Regions from separate parts of the Homo sapiens genome. Here regions 2, 3, 4 and 5 are each linked to region 1. The links are contacts of gene promoters, found by promoter capture Hi-C in blood cells and fetal thymus (Javierre and others, 2016). All regions are on one chromosome and are shown on one strand. Each heading gives the region's core, a stretch centred on a gene start or on the middle of the fragment in contact. The rest is flanking DNA. Distances are from core to core; before and after follow the strand shown. Region 1 holds the start of TRAF6 (TNF receptor associated factor 6). Region 2 has its middle 12 kb from the start of FJX1. Region 3 has its middle 14 kb from the start of TRIM44. Region 4 overlaps TRIM44 (tripartite motif containing 44). Region 5 overlaps TRIM44 (tripartite motif containing 44).

The links. Contacts are between HindIII fragments. The CHiCAGO score rates a contact against its expected background, and 5 or more counts as called.
Region 2: a contact is called between a fragment that was not itself captured here and the fragment with the promoter of TRAF6 in region 1, in 3 of 17 cell types (total B cells, non-activated CD4 T cells and naive CD8 T cells). The highest score is 7.2, in total B cells.
Region 3: a fragment that was not itself captured here is called in contact with the fragment with the promoter of TRAF6 in region 1 in 8 of 17 cell types (non-activated CD4 T cells, activated CD4 T cells, total CD4 T cells and 5 more); the score reaches 9.8 in non-activated CD4 T cells.
Region 4: a contact is called between a fragment that was not itself captured here and the fragment with the promoter of TRAF6 in region 1, in 4 of 17 cell types (total CD4 T cells, total CD8 T cells, naive CD8 T cells and 1 more). The highest score is 8.2, in total CD4 T cells.
Region 5: a contact is called between a fragment that was not itself captured here and the fragment with the promoter of TRAF6 in region 1, in 2 of 17 cell types (naive B cells and total B cells). The highest score is 6.2, in naive B cells.

Annotation. Positions count from the first base shown.
Region 1 is chr11:36,508,879-36,511,814 of GRCh38, forward strand. It overlaps TRAF6 (TNF receptor associated factor 6), which reads right to left and starts at 1,394. Exons shown (of 7, transcript NM_004620.4): 1 at 1,170-1,394. It also overlaps a transcript of RAG1 not described here. RefSeq lists an enhancer at 1,213-1,262. The HindIII fragment of the contact is 10,105 bases long and covers 1-2,936 here.
Region 2 is chr11:35,629,399-35,632,334 of GRCh38, forward strand. No RefSeq gene overlaps it. Among named protein-coding and RNA genes, the nearest start is that of FJX1, 12 kb to the left of the region's middle. RefSeq lists an enhancer at 6-1,205. The HindIII fragment of the contact is 4,468 bases long and covers 1-2,936 here.
Region 3 is chr11:35,646,912-35,649,847 of GRCh38, forward strand. No RefSeq gene overlaps it. Among named protein-coding and RNA genes, the nearest start is that of TRIM44, 14 kb to the right of the region's middle. The HindIII fragment of the contact is 824 bases long and covers 1,139-1,962 here.
Region 4 is chr11:35,686,015-35,688,950 of GRCh38, forward strand. All of the region lies in intron 2 of TRIM44 (tripartite motif containing 44), which reads left to right. Among named protein-coding and RNA genes, the nearest start is that of TRIM44, 25 kb to the left of the region's middle. The HindIII fragment of the contact is 210 bases long and covers 1,467-1,676 here.
Region 5 is chr11:35,712,021-35,714,956 of GRCh38, forward strand. All of the region lies in intron 2 of TRIM44 (tripartite motif containing 44), which reads left to right. Among named protein-coding and RNA genes, the nearest start is that of TRIM44, 51 kb to the left of the region's middle. The HindIII fragment of the contact is 1,443 bases long and covers 682-2,124 here.

The DNA of each region.
Region 1 (2,936 bases), core at 144-2,643:
CAAAAGTTTACCGGCATCACATGCCCAAATTTATCACAGAGAAGAGCTCATGTTACAATTCTGAAATATTGTGGTGCATGCAGGCTGAAACTCTGATGTGATCCTGTACCCACCACATGCCGGACTCCTTCCTAGAGTCACAAAAGAGGCCACATTGTTCCTGCCTATACACTCAACCTCAAAATTTGAAAAGCCCCTCTCCCTTCCCTAGTAATCAAAGGAGAATGAATGAAATGATAGCGGCCAAGTTCACAAGGCCAACACAGAATTTCTTTACCAGTTTTTCTCGTTTCTACATGGAACCTGTGTAACAAGACATTCAGTAATAGTAATCTGCTCTCAGAGAAAGAAACAATTAAATACCATACAGCGAAGCTGCTAATACTTTATTTAGGTGCTTTCTGTTCACATTCAAGACAGTCCTAACTCAGCTGGAGTTCCCCTTAAGCCAAATACTAGGAACAGCTTTATCAACCCGGCGTCTGGAACAATCGCTCGAACTACCGAGTTTAGGGGCGGGGGAGAAAACATTCGTGTCATCTGAGCCTTTTTTTTTTTTTAAACTCGCTGCCTGAGACTTCTATAGAGTTCAACAGGGAATCCAAAAATAGCTTTCCCATGACAGTGACAGCCGGAGTCGCCAGGAACGTAAAGGATTTTTTAAAAATTTAAGCAGGTGTTTGCTCCAAGGAGCGGACAACTGCAGGAGGCAATTTCCTTATCTGGGAAGGGGAAAAAGCGGAGTTGAGGGGAGCGAGGTTGAGTAAGGCGACGCGGGGTTTTTTAGGGGGTGGAATGAGCGAGGAAGAGGAGGCCTGGGGAGCAGAGGTCAGGGGACAGGGAACGGTGTCCCCGACCTGTGGGAAGCGTGGGGACAGAGGCTGCGTCCCGACCTGCAGGAAGCGAGGGGCAGGGAACGGTGTCCTCGACCAGCGGGAAGCGAGAGGACAGGGGCGGCGTCCCCGACCCGTGGGAAGCAAGCGGGTAGGGGCGGCGTCCCTGACCTGTGAAAAGCGAAGGGACAGGGGAGGCGTCCCCGACTGGTGGGAAGCGAGGGGACAGGGACTGCGTCCCCGACCTGCCGAGAGCGAAGGGGCGGGGGGCGGCGTCCCTGACCGCTGGGAAGCGAGGCGGCGGCCGCCAGGAGGAGGCGCCTGAAGGAGACTCACCGTTCTAGTGCGCGGGGAGGCCGAACCAGGAGGGCAGGGCTCCCCCACCAACCGCACGACTCCGCTCAGCCAAGGCGCTGGTAGAGGACGGACACAGACACTGCGCGCCGAGACGAGGCTGCTTGGACGGCAAACTCTGGATCCAGTGGGAGCCTTCGCCACCTTCGCTGGCCGCCCGCAGGCCAAGCCCCAGCTGCGGACGCCACTGCTTCCGCCTTCTCTGCTGGCTGCGGGGAGCGAGGGGCAGGGAGCGCGCCGGGGAGGAGACAGAGCGGCCGAGTTCGGAGAGAGTGCCCCCTGGCGGTGATCCTCCAGGCGGACTGTGGCGCGGGCCGGGCGGCGCCCCCAGCCCCGCAGCCTGGCTTTCTTCCTGCTCGGGTGTCCCACCTGGGAATTCGTTGCACCGCACAGCCGAACCCGAGTGTGTCAATGGGTGTGTGTTGGAATGAGGATGGCGACGAGAAGATCCCTCCCGGAATAACTTAATTTGGTGAGCAGTGGCGACAGTAGTAATCCCAAACTGCGCTTTTATAGCACCCCTCTCCAAGCAGGAGAAAACCCCAGCTGGGCTAGATCGCTTGACCTTCAGGAATTCTTAAACCCCTCCCCAGCTCCACCCTCCTTGCCCAGGAAGTTTCTGCGATCCATAGAACCCTCTATTATTACCTGCTCTTCCCCTTCATCCGGTCCAAGGGAGTCAGCCCTTGCCTTAAATATTTCTTTGAATTTCCTGCCAAGAACACCAGCGCTTTGTCTTTCTCTGTCATGGGAAAACTATTTTAAATTCCCTGTTTAACTGGTCATAAACGTCTAGAGAATGTACCACGCGTTTTGCTGGAGAAGCACAAAAGAGTTTCATCCACCTCTGCATATTTGGTTCATCGTCCACCTCTTAGGGGAGGTTTTCCAGGATAGTAGTCATGCGTATGTATCCTGAAGCCAGAATGCTTGGTTCCAATCCGGTTTTTCCTACAATAAATGTGTGATTCAGGTAAAATACTTAATCTGTACTTGTTTCAGTTTTCTCATCTCGTATTAACATGGGGATAATAATAGTATCTACCTCACAGGGTTGTTGGAAGGATGAGATAAAATATGTAAAGAAATTATTTAAAACTATCTGGCCAGGCACAAATAGGCTCATGCCTATAATCCCAGTACTTTGGGAGGCTAAGGCAGGAGGATCACTTGAGGCCAGGAATTTGAGACCAGCCTGGGCAACATAGTGAGACCCCATCTTTACACAAAATTTAAAAATTACCTGGGTGTGGTGGTGCATATCTGTAGTCTCGGCTACTCTGGAGGCTGAGGTGGGAGGATGGCTTGAGCCCTGGCAGTCAAGGCTACAGTAAGCCATGATTGCACCACTGCATTCCAGCCTGGGTGACAGAGTGAGACCCTGTCTCAAGGAACAAACGAACAAACAAATAAACCCAAAACTAGGACATAGTATGGGCTCAATAAATGTTACCAATACTATATGTCCTACTTTCTGGCTGCCAATATTCATTAAAAATGCTTCTCTTTTTAAGAAGAATTTATCACTGGTTCTCAGGTTCTGTCAACCCCCTTTTAAAAGATTGTATTTTGAAACACTTAAGACATAAAAAGAGCACAAACATCTGTGTGCTCACCACCCAGCTTTAAAAAATAAAACATTGCCAGCCTTTGTGTATCCCTCCCTAGAAGCTCCTCTTAAAAATTAAATCTCTTATGGGATGGAAGAAAAGATCATTATATGAAATTGAGAGCTGGAGAAAAGGAAGA
Region 2 (2,936 bases), core at 130-2,629, 880 kb before region 1:
ATATATGCCAGGAAAATGATTAAAAGGAAAGACAAAAGGAAAAGATTGGGAACAAGGGAAAAGGGGAAGGAACGTTAAAAAGAATCACATGTGGTAGAGTGGCAAAGAAGCAGCCTTTGCCTCTGGTACAGATAGCCCTCACGTTGACCTTCAATCAGCATCAGAGCCAGCAAAATGATGCCACATTGCAGGGGAAAGAGCTAGTGCCTCTGCAGGTTACATTTAGGATTAAAGAAAGGTCAAGTTACTCCAGGGAAAATTACTTTTCATTTGCAGTCAGCATCCTGCCTGTGCTACAGCTCCCAACTATGCGAAGTCCAGCCATCACCACTTGATCTTTGGCCCCTTGACGCTGAAGAGCACATTCTGCCAACCTTTCAAAAAAGAAAGGCTTTGCCATCACACATGAATCTCAACCTTGCCCTTCCAGAGGCAGCACATTCAATTTCATTATTTAGTGAGCCTATCTCTAGTGACCTATTAGCGAAATCAAAAATGCTAATGAAAAAACAGGTTAAGCATCTTTGACTTCTCAAGGCATTGAGCTAATAAAAGATGCCCAGAAAACATTGCTGTGTGGCTCCCTTCTCCTCCACCTGTTTATAATTGGGACCCATCCAAAGTCTCTCTGCAATATAACATTCGTGACCCAACTCCACATAAGTGTCTGTCTTTTCTGATACTATGATGCTGGATGCATGACTCATGCCATAAAAATTATTGTAATGACTCTGGACTTAGCAATTCAGAAGTTGGTGCTCCATGCGAAATCCCTCGTGGGCTGTTTTCAAGTGATTACTCATGGCCCAGGTATGTGCTGCATGTATGAGTATAGTTACGTTGGTTATTAGACTATCGAAATACTTCCAGCTCAGTTGATAAATGTCTACTCTGCGGCCCCAGAGTGACTCTTCCATGTTTCTGAACAATCCCCACTACCATCCCATGATCCTGCAACTAACAGGTTAACACCTGGAGTAGCAGAGAGTTCTTGAACCAGTAACCCGGCACTAAGGCCAACAGTAAGTTCTGACTTCACCTTATGTAATTTGAATAGTATTTCCTGGGTATAAGATGTAAAGGTTCAAATCCATGGAACAACAGAGGTATCATCCTAAGCCCTATCTTTAGTTCTCCTGTTTTAAAGCCTCAATTTACTTGGCAAACAGACACTGAGCATCTGCTCATTGCATTCATGTTTCCTGGCTGCTAACTTTGGGTCAGACACTGTGTTAGGTGGTAGGAACAGGTCAGTTAACTGGAGTGATATGGTTTCTGATCTTCTGTAGTGTAGAGTCTGGTAGAGGAGACAGACATTAAGCAAATTATTACTGTAATAAATGGGATGACAGGAAAATACATGGCCCTATGAGAGTGTTAATAGGGGACAACCTCACATTGGAGGTTGAAGGATCTGGCATTTAAGCAGAGACCAGAGCAATGAGCAGAAGTCAGCCAGCATAGAGGAGAAAAGAAGGAGTGGAGAGCATTTCAATTGGAAGGAATTGCATTTGAGAGCTTGAGAGAAGGAGCTTGCTGTACAGAAATGAAAGGCTGGTATGATTGAAGAGTACTGCCCTAGAAGGGGATTGCATAGTTCGAGGCTGCAGAGGTAAGCAGGCACCTATTAAGTGCCAGGCACAGAGGGCAGGAGATGGATATATCATAATCCTCACCCCTGAGGGAGGCCCTATCTCATAGTGGTAAGGGCTGAATTACAGAGGGGGACTCTCTAGGTTCAAACCCTGGCTCCTCCATTTTCTGGCTCTGAGACCTTAGGCAGGTTACTTATGCTCTCTGACCCTGAGTTTCCTCATCTGAATATAGGAATAATAATAATAATAAGACCTACCTATTTATGAATAACACATGCAAAGTACTTACAACAATGCCCGACACATAGTAAAGACTCAGTAATTATTAGGCATTGACCACTACGACACAAGAAAGAAGTGGAAACACAGATTAAGTGGCTTCTTTTCTACTCATTTCCACCCAGTTCAAAGGTTGTTATGTGGTGATATGGTTTGGCTCTTTGTCCCCACCCAAAGTTCATGTTGAGTTGTGATCCCCAGTGTTGGAGGTGGCCTGGGGGGAGATTATTGGGTCATGGGGGTGGTTTCTAATGATTTAGCACCGTCCCCCCAGTACTCTCTAGTGACAGAGTTCTCACAGGATCTGGTTGTTTAAAAGTGTGCAGCACTTCACCCTTCGCTCTCTCCTGTTTTGCCATGGTAAGATGTGCCGCTTCCCCTTCGCCTCCTGCCATGATTGTTAGTTTCCCAAGACCTCTCAGCCATGCTTCCTGTACAGCCTGTGGAACTGTGAGCCAGTTAAACCTCTTTTCTTTATAAATTGCCCAGTCTCAGGTAGTTCTTTATAGCAGCGTGAGAATGGACTAATACATGTAGTAAAAACATTCTGTGCTTAATAATCCTACTTAAAGGCACCAACGTTGTCTGTGCTATATAGTTCATGAGAAGATTATGTAATGACTCTCCTCCCATGATCCATTCTATCAAAGGCAGTTTCCGGCTGGGCATGGTGGCTCACACCTGTAATCCTGGCACTTTGGAAGTCCTGAGTTTAGATCACATGCCCACTCTTTGGCATGATGAATATGTATGAGAGAACCATGTATGGGAGAACTAGATATAGGACTCAACGACATTAACCACAACTGGGTACTTTTCCAAAGAAAACCAGATGTTCTTGAAGAAATAGATGCTGAGTGACCCTAACCACAACAAATGATCACTCTACCTTCTTAGTCCCCATAGTGGGAAACGTTTTGTGGTCCATTTCTGCAAAGGAGATGATCATGGAAACTAACCCTCATGTCCATAGTGTTTCACAGAATGTGAGGGCAGCATAGATCTGTGAAAACAAACAAACAACAACAACCCAAAGCCTATCAGACTGCAGAAAACAATGAC
Region 3 (2,936 bases), core at 301-2,800, 860 kb before region 1:
AAAAAAGGGTGGGTCAAGTAAACTGAAAAATGCAGAATTAGGGCTTCAGGCATAATTGGATTTAAGACTCAGTGATCTTATCAAGAGTCAGTTTTTTGAATCTATAATTTTTTTGAAAACTTTGTTTTAGAAAAAAGGAATTGGTTTTCTTTTTTTCTCTTGTGTCTACCTTCCTTGGAGTGGATTCTTCAAGTCAGCAAGATGTAGGGAAATCCAGCAGCTCCAGCCACTATTCCTCTTTCCTTCTAGGTCCAGCAGGAAAAAAAAAAAAAAGGAAAAAATATCCTCTTTCTCAGAAGTCCCAAGAAAAATCACATTGCCTCTCTGGCTCTGCCAGAGTCCTGGCCCATCTTTGAAATAACCACTGTGGTCAGGTGAATACAGATGCTAATTGCTTAGTTCTGGGTTGTAAGTTCCTTCCTAGAATTACTCATGGAGTCAGTGTCTCTAGAACCATACAGATTCAGAGGAGTAGAAGAGGGATACTTTTGACAGCAGATAACAGACTTGCTTATTTATACGGCTGTATTATCTCACATAACAAGAAGTCCACAGGTAAGCGATCTGGGTTGGTGTCTTAATTCGTCTGTGTTGTTATAAAGAAATAACTGAGACTGGATCATTTATAAAGAGAAAATATTTATTTGGCTCATGGTTCACAGGCTGTACAAGAAGCATGGTGCCAGCATCTGCATCTGGTGAGAGCCTCAAGCTGCTTCCCCTTATGGTGGAAGATGAAGGGGAGCCTGTCACAGAGCGAGAGCAGGAAGAGGGAGGGGGAGAGAGAGAGAGGGAGAGAGAGAGAAAGAAGGAGAAGGAGAAAGAGAAAGAGAAGGAGAAAGAGGAGAAGGAAAAGGAGAAGGAGAAGGAGGAGGAGGTGACAGCCTCCTTTCCACAATCGGTTCTCAGAGGGGCAGGGCAGGAGGTAGGGGGAGACAAAATGGGAATTAATTAACTCCCTTGAGAATGGCACCAAGCCCTCCATGAAGGATCCACCCCCATAATCCAAACACCTTCCACCAAGCCCCGCCTCCAACACTGGGGATCAAATTTCAAATTTCAACATGAGACGTGGCAGGGCCAAACAAACCATATCCAAATCATAGCACTGGGTGACATAGCAGTTGGATAAATCCAAAGCTTAATAATGTCGGGGGTCTAGGTGTTTCTCTATGGTCTCTTACTCTCATGATTATAAGATGGCTTCCATAGCTTGTTCCTCACAAGATCCTAAAGCAGGAAGGAAGGGACAGGGCTTTCCTCTTGCAAGTCTCTTTCTTCTGTTTAGAAAAGGAAATCTTTTCCAGAAGTGCCCCGATGAGACTTGCCTTAATGCCTCATTAGCCAAGGCTTGGTCACATATACACCTCAAAACCTATTACTGGCAAAAGAGGTTGGGATTCTCATGATTGGCTTAGCTCTATGATGGTTCATGCTCCAGGGCTGAGGATGTTAATATCTAAATATCTGGAGAGATGAGAGTTCTGTTAGTAGGGAAGCTGGGTTTTAACCAGCTATGTGTGCCTCAGCTCCCTGAGGCAAACTGGGGAGTTGGTTACCAGAAGGAGGCTGAGGGGACACCAGGTAGAAAAAACAATGAATGTCTATTAGAACTAAACGGAGAGCAAAGACAGTTCAAGACCTGGAACATACTAGGCACTCAGTGGGGAATTCACAGAGTTCAAAAACCAAATTGAGAAGAACGGGAATTGTCTCAGAGCTTTAGGTTTAAATATGGACTGGCAGAACCAACACGGACCACACAGATTATGGTAATTGCTTTGAAAAATGGTCAGAACCATCCTTCCCATCCTGCATGCCCTTTTATAATGTAACTCTGAAAGTCTTCAGGAGGTAGAGCCCTTTCTCCCTCTTCTTGAATCTTAGTTGACCACTGACTTGCTTTGATAAATATTCTACAATGAAAGTAATATTGAATGACATCTGGACTAGGCCTTAAGAAGCTTTCAAGCTTCCATTTTCATCCTCTTGGAACCATGTAAGGAAGTTCAGGTTATCCAGCAGGAGGGACTGTGTAGAGAAAGAACTGCAGATCAAGTTTTGCTTTCTTGCATGACGCAGTGATTCCTTTCAGTTCAACTCTGAATCTTGTCAGGTCTCAAATGTGCCTTAGGGTCTATATGGATTTCAGGATGAAGACAGCGTAAACATGTTTGGATTATTCTAGCCCTAGAGGATAAGAGTTCCTCTCCCTAGGGTAGAATTGAGGTTGACAAACATAGCTGCTAAACAAGTGGGCAACACCATCTTGGATGTTGCAGCTCCAGCTGAGCACCCCTCTGAAAGCAGCTGCGTGAGTGATCCCAGCCAATACCATATAAAGCAGAAGAACTAGCCAGCTGAGCCCAGACAATCCATACCATCCTGAGAAATAATGAATCATTATTGTTTTCAGCACCTACATTTTGGAGTGGTGTGTGGCATAGCAATAGACAACCAAAACAGGAATCATCTACTTTAGCTCACTCATTTCACAGAGACTGAAGAGCCAGTGAAGTTAAAGGACTTGCTCAGAGCCACATAGCTCATTAGTGGCAGAGGCATGGCAAGAACTTAGATTTCTGCATTCTCAACCCACTGCTTGATCATTAAACCTGGCATAATGGCCGGGCACAGTGGCTCACACCTATAATCCCAGTGCTTTGGGAGGTCAGGGTGGGAGGATGGCTTGAGGCCAGGAGTTCAAGACCAGCCCCAGCAACATAGTGAGACCCTGTCTCTACAAAATAATAATAATAATTTTAAAGTTAGCCAGGTGTGGTGGCACATGCCTATAGTCCTAGCTACTCAGGGAGGCTGAGGCAGGGAGATCACTTGAGTCCAGAATTTTGAGGTTATAGTGAGCTTGCACCATTGAAGTCCAGCCTGGGTAACAGAGCAAGACTCTGTCTAAAAAAAAAAAAAAAAGAAAAAGA
Region 4 (2,936 bases), core at 322-2,821, 820 kb before region 1:
AGTTGGTGTTCAGCACTAGCGTCTTATCTCTCCACTGCTTCCAGGAGCCAGCTGCCACTCAGAATACTTTTTTCCTCATGACCTGAAGTCTGGTTTGGAAACTGGTTTAAGTGTCCCGGCTTTTTTTTTTTATTTCAATATGTTAGGGTCTAGAGGATTGATATTCTGGGAGACACCATAACGGGGTGGAGGTAAACGGAACTGAACAGACTTCCTTCTCCTTCCTACCCAGACACTTACTGTGGCACTACCTGGTATTGGGGCCAGCTGGCTTTGCCTTAGAATCAAAGTTTCTCACAATTAAATAGGGAAAGGCGCATGATTTTATTTTACTGTAGGTTCTTTTTGTTTTTGTTTTTGTTTTTTTTTTTTTTAAGAGGAATGGGACTAGCATTTCTTGAGTATCTACTGAGAGTCAGGCACTTTGCTAGGACTCTTACATGATTGTACTAAAATATACATACAAAATTTTAACCATTTTTGAGTGTACAGTTCAATGGCATTAAGTACATTCACTTTGGTTTTTTGTTTGTTTGTTTGTTTTTGTTTTTTGTTTTTTTGAGACGGAATCTCGCTCTGATGCCCAGGTTGGAGTGCAGTGGCATGATCTCGGCTCAGTGCAACCTCTCCCTCCCAGGTTCAAGTGATTCTCCTGCCTCAGCCGCCTGAGTGGCTGAGACTACAGGCACATGCCACCACACCCAGCTAACTTTTTGTGTTTTTACTAGCGACAGAGTTTCACCATGTTGGCCAGGCTGGTTTCGAACTCCTGACCTCAAGTGATCTGCCCGCCTCAGTCTCCCAAAGTGCTGGGATTATGGGCGTGAGCCACCACACCTGGCCACACTTTGTTGTGCAGCCATCATCACTGTCCATCTCTAGAGCTTTTTTACTATCCCAAACTGAAATTCGGTACCCATTAAATGCTAACTTCTCATTCCTGCTCTCCCCTTAAATACTTTTAATTATTTAACAACACTGTAAAGTAGCATTTTCTTCCTACTTTATTGATAAGAACACTGAGGTTTAGAAAGGTAGAATCATCTGCCCAAATCTAATGTAATATAGATGTGGAATTCAAACTCTGACTCCAGTGCCTATACTCTTTATCTTATGTCATGCAAACCAAGCACTGGATTTTATCTCCTTTCTGCCACATGATCACATTGTGCTGCAGTTTTCTAAATTGAAACACAATATGTGGCAGAGCCATAGACTGGTGGGCTCTTCAAAAGGTGGCTGCAGCCACAAGAATAAATTTCTCTTCATATGGCAATGAAAATATCGGGGACATTGGTAAGATCTCTTGTCTTCTGGTGTAGTCAGGGTTCCAGAAGTAGAGAGTTAGGTTGGTAGATAGAAAAAATTAGAGTAACCTTTATCAACTTTCCTAGCTCAAAGTAGGAGGACCCCTGATAAAAGTTTTTCCTTTAGCTAGGATGAACCACTTATTAAAAGTTACTGAAAGCTTTTCTTACCAAGTTTCTCTGGTTTCTGGAGCAACTCCTGTTCTGCAGGAGACAACCATATTCTGATTCCGCCAAACTTATAATTAGCAGTGCAGTGAAGAGGGAGCGGATGTGTACAAATCACACTGAGTGTTCTCTGTGTATGACTATAATACAGGTAAAGTGCTTTGGGATCCTTTATGAATGCATGTAGTGCTTCTGATGGAAAGCTTGCCAGAAAGTGAAAGGTTTGAGCGGTTGCATGAGAGGAATCCCTGGAAGTGTCAGGGTTTTCTCTTGATGCATCATAAGGTAAAGGATATTTGTAAGGACCCGACTTGATCTTGGGTGTGTGTGTATACCTGCACCTCTTTTTTACGTTCTTTTTATTTTGCCCTGGATCATTTACTACCAACCTATTTTATTTTCAAGCCCCTTTTTAGTCTACCACAACCATATGCTGTATATACTTGGAGCCAGCTTGAAGAAGGGTGAACGTAATTGCAGAATGACTGCCAGGTCAGGAATGGGGGTAAAAAACAGGCCACTTAAATATATAATTTCTGCACAAAGAAGATTTTCCTAGAAATAAATTGGCATCTTCCAAGACAACCCTTAAGTTTTTGTCTGTTCTGTTTTCCCACAGAGCCCCACCATCCCCTTTTTGAGTTGGCCTATTTAAGAAGGGCAGAAATCTCTTAGGCTTTGTGACCTGTCATTTCCTGGGCACAGAGGCTTTACATAGAAGCACTGATTGAGTCATGGAGGACTGAGCACTATCTCTGCCTCACTTCCTCTAGAATTCCCTAAAGCATCACAAAGCTTGATTAGTCCAGACACTGAAGCCTATTGGGGAATGAGTTAATTTTTACCTCTTGAGTTTTGCTAGAGAGCAGTAGAAGATGTCTAAATTAATCATTTTTTTAAAATTATAAAATAATACATACTTATAGATTTAAAAATACAGATATTCATAAAGAAAAAGTAAAATCTCCCCTAAGTTAGCCACTGTTAACAGTTTAGTATGTAACCTTCTAGACATTTTTCTATGTAGTACCTTTTCAAAATTCTTTTACAAAATTATACCCATGGTTTTACAATTGCTTTTTCCTTTATGTGGAATATCTTAGATATTCTTCTGTGTCAAAAATATAGACTTGATTCTGTTTAATGAGATGCCTCATTTTATTCAAAACATTTGTCAGACATCTTCTTTTCTTCCAGACCCAGAGGTTCTTAAACTTCAGTGTACATGAAAATCACCCAGAAGACGTATTAAAATATAGAGTGCTGTGCCCACCTCCAGAGTTTTTTATTCAATTGGCCTGGGGTGGCTAGACAATGTTCATTTCTATGAAATTATCAGGTGATGCTGATGTTGCTGTTTCAAGTACCACACTTTGAGAACCTCTGTGCTGTACCTTAGCTGTTTTCCTCTATGTTTGCTAATGATTTTTTTTCACTTCTTTGAACAAGTAGAAGAGCCCC
Region 5 (2,936 bases), core at 153-2,652, 800 kb before region 1:
TGACTTGCAAATAAATTGAGTTCAGTCTCCACTTTTGGGATCCCTTGGTGTGTGGTTTGTTGGCTCACTCACTCTGTGAGTGAACTTGCCTGGCTGCAGAGTAACTGGCAGTAGTTCAGCATAGGTCTGTTGCCTGTTCAAGTCAAAGCAAATGTATCTGCCTTGGGAGTGTGTAGTTGTGTGTCCATATATTCCCAATAGAAAGAAGAAATCAATGCATTGAAGCAAGTATGTTTATTGTTATGAAGCAGACTCCCTAGTTAGCAGAACTGCTTGGTGCCCAACTATAAGAAAAATAAAGAAGTTATTTTAGGAATAACTTTACTTAAAGTTATTTAAGAAACACATTAGGAAATATATTCCCACTTTAAAGTAAACGCTACTGAGATTCTTCACTCCCTACCTCCTCTTCTCCCTTCCCCTGCAGCTTTACCTTATCCTTCTCTTTCTTACTGGAGCCCCAGACCTCCTAATTGAACCACAGCACCAATAGATTATAGTCATTTAAAAACTAAGGTGGGCATGGTTTCCAAGCTGCCTGGTGGACTGGAGCATTGTTACAAAGCAGAGGGATTGAGCTTTAAATGGCTTAATAAAATTAACACTTTGTGATGTCTTCTTCCTCCTGCTCCAGCTCCTCTCTGCACTGACAGGAGACTTGATAGTATACTCTTTGCCAAAAGCTTGAAGGGCTGATTACACAGCGAACCTGGAGAGAGGAGTGAAGCTGTCAGGACTCCCCCATAGCAGCCACGCTTCAGGTTTCCAGTGCAGGATTGTATTTGACAGTTAATTTAGGAGCCGGGGTACCTAGATATAAAACTTTATTGTGATAATAGTGATAAAATCACCCAGACTTTTATTTAAGGGCCTGCTGCTCTCCTGTCCCCCTCCTTCCTCTTTCCCTGTTAGTTCAAGCTCTCATTCAGTTAAAGAAATAAAATCAGATTTGCTCAGGGAAAAAGGTGTTTTCTTTGATATTCTTAGACCAAACCTGCAGAATGCAACTCTCGGTCTACCTCAGATCTATATGTAGATGCTTATACATATATATAAATATAAAATTTGAGAACAGTGCCTCTCTCCTGATTGACTGCATTTAGCCAAAGGGCAGAATTTATCAGGTCTTTACACCTACGAAGAGACATTTCATTCAACCCAGTGATTCAGCTGATGTTCATCCCCTTGTTTAATGACTTTTGTTTACCTCTGCAGCAGGCAAAATAGATTCTACCATGTCTCCCTACTTCCTAACTCAGCCCATTTATTTAGACATTATGATCCCCTTTTATAAATGAAGAAACAAAGATTTAAGAGGTTAAGTGACTTGTTCACGAGGCTAAAGATGCTAGTAAGTTGCCTTTCTATGACTTCTATATAGAAGTTATTAACTTTTGCCTATAGAAGATGTATTGAGAATGGTATTCCAATGTAGTATTTGTTCAGACTTAAGGGTAAAAGTTTACATTGAATATGACATGCTTTTTTTTTTTTTTTGGTGAAAGAGCACAAATATTGGAGTCAGATGACATGAGTCCATATATTTCAGTTTTATCTATAAAGGAGGACTAATCATACTATATTTTTATTAATGAAGATCCTGAAAATGAAAACTTGTGAGGAGATAAGAAACAGTGGAAGATGATTTTGGGGACTTAAATGTATGTTAGCAACTGTAGTTAGTTTAAGAGCACTGTGGTTCTTGGGTAAGCAGGTTGTTAGCTCCTTAAGGGAGTAGAGTAGGGTTTCAGTCTACAAAGAAGAGAAAATACCATGAGAGGCAAGTTGTGAGATTGAGGAGCCAACTACGCCCATAGACTGACTTTGTGTAGGTACAGAGGAACAGAATGTGACCCATCCTTCCTGTGCTTTCTGTACTTTGCTTCTGTATCATTGAAGTAGACTGACCCTGAGATGTTGGGCAGTCAGATCTGATCAAATCAGAAAAGGCAGCCATTGCTCCTTGACACCTTGTGGCCATTTATTTGAAACTGAGGCAAGGAGCCTCAGTATTGATATCTTTACTTTTCAATGCCTAGGATGAGTAGGAAAGTCTTTTAGATGTTCCCTTGGGAAATTAGATCTAAACTCCCAAGGGCATAGGCTCCCTCTTTTCTTTAGGAAAGCTTATTGGGGACTCTTCTTCTGTGAGAGCTCAGTAGATACCATATGGGAGGCACACAATAAAAGTTCACAGTTACTATTATCTCTAATGAGCAGAATGGTTCTGCTGATGGTTCTGTGTGCCCGGAGAGCCCTAAGTGCTTTCCATGTATTATTTTGTGTTAAGTTTAGAAAAATATCTATGAGAATGTTATTATTACCCTCATTTTACAAAGAAACTTTTTATGGAGAAATTTTCACCTTTCTGAGCTTCAGAAGCATGGAGTTAGCAGAACCAGTCCTCAAACCCCTTTCTCTACTCTATCAAAGTCCATATGCTGTACCGTTGTGACCCTATGTAGGAAAGAAGACTCAGCAAACATGAGAGCTACGTCTCAGTGCCCTTTCCTGAGTATTTGTGGCAGTATGCAGTTGTTTTGGTGTTGTGTTTTAATAAAATACAAATAACTGTGGCTTTATAGGGAAACTGCTTGAGAGAACTGGAATGGAGATTGAGTCTTATTTTAAAATTGCTTTAATCTTCAGATAAAATAGGCTTTCTTTGTATATTCAAGTCTAACTTATTTTAAGTCAAGACTTAAAAATAGTATAAATTCTGTATAGTTGCCCCTCAAACTTTCAGTGTCACTTTCCACCTCCCACTTCTACACGATAGTTCCCGAAGCAGAAGTTGTCTTTCTAGTTTATGCATAGGCTAAGGTGTTAAGAAAGCAGGAAAACAAGATGGAATAGAAGCTCTCACCCTTATTCTTGGTTGTTACAAGTCCTGGGTGTCTCTGGGGACACATTCTTCTAGTTTCATATTCCTATAG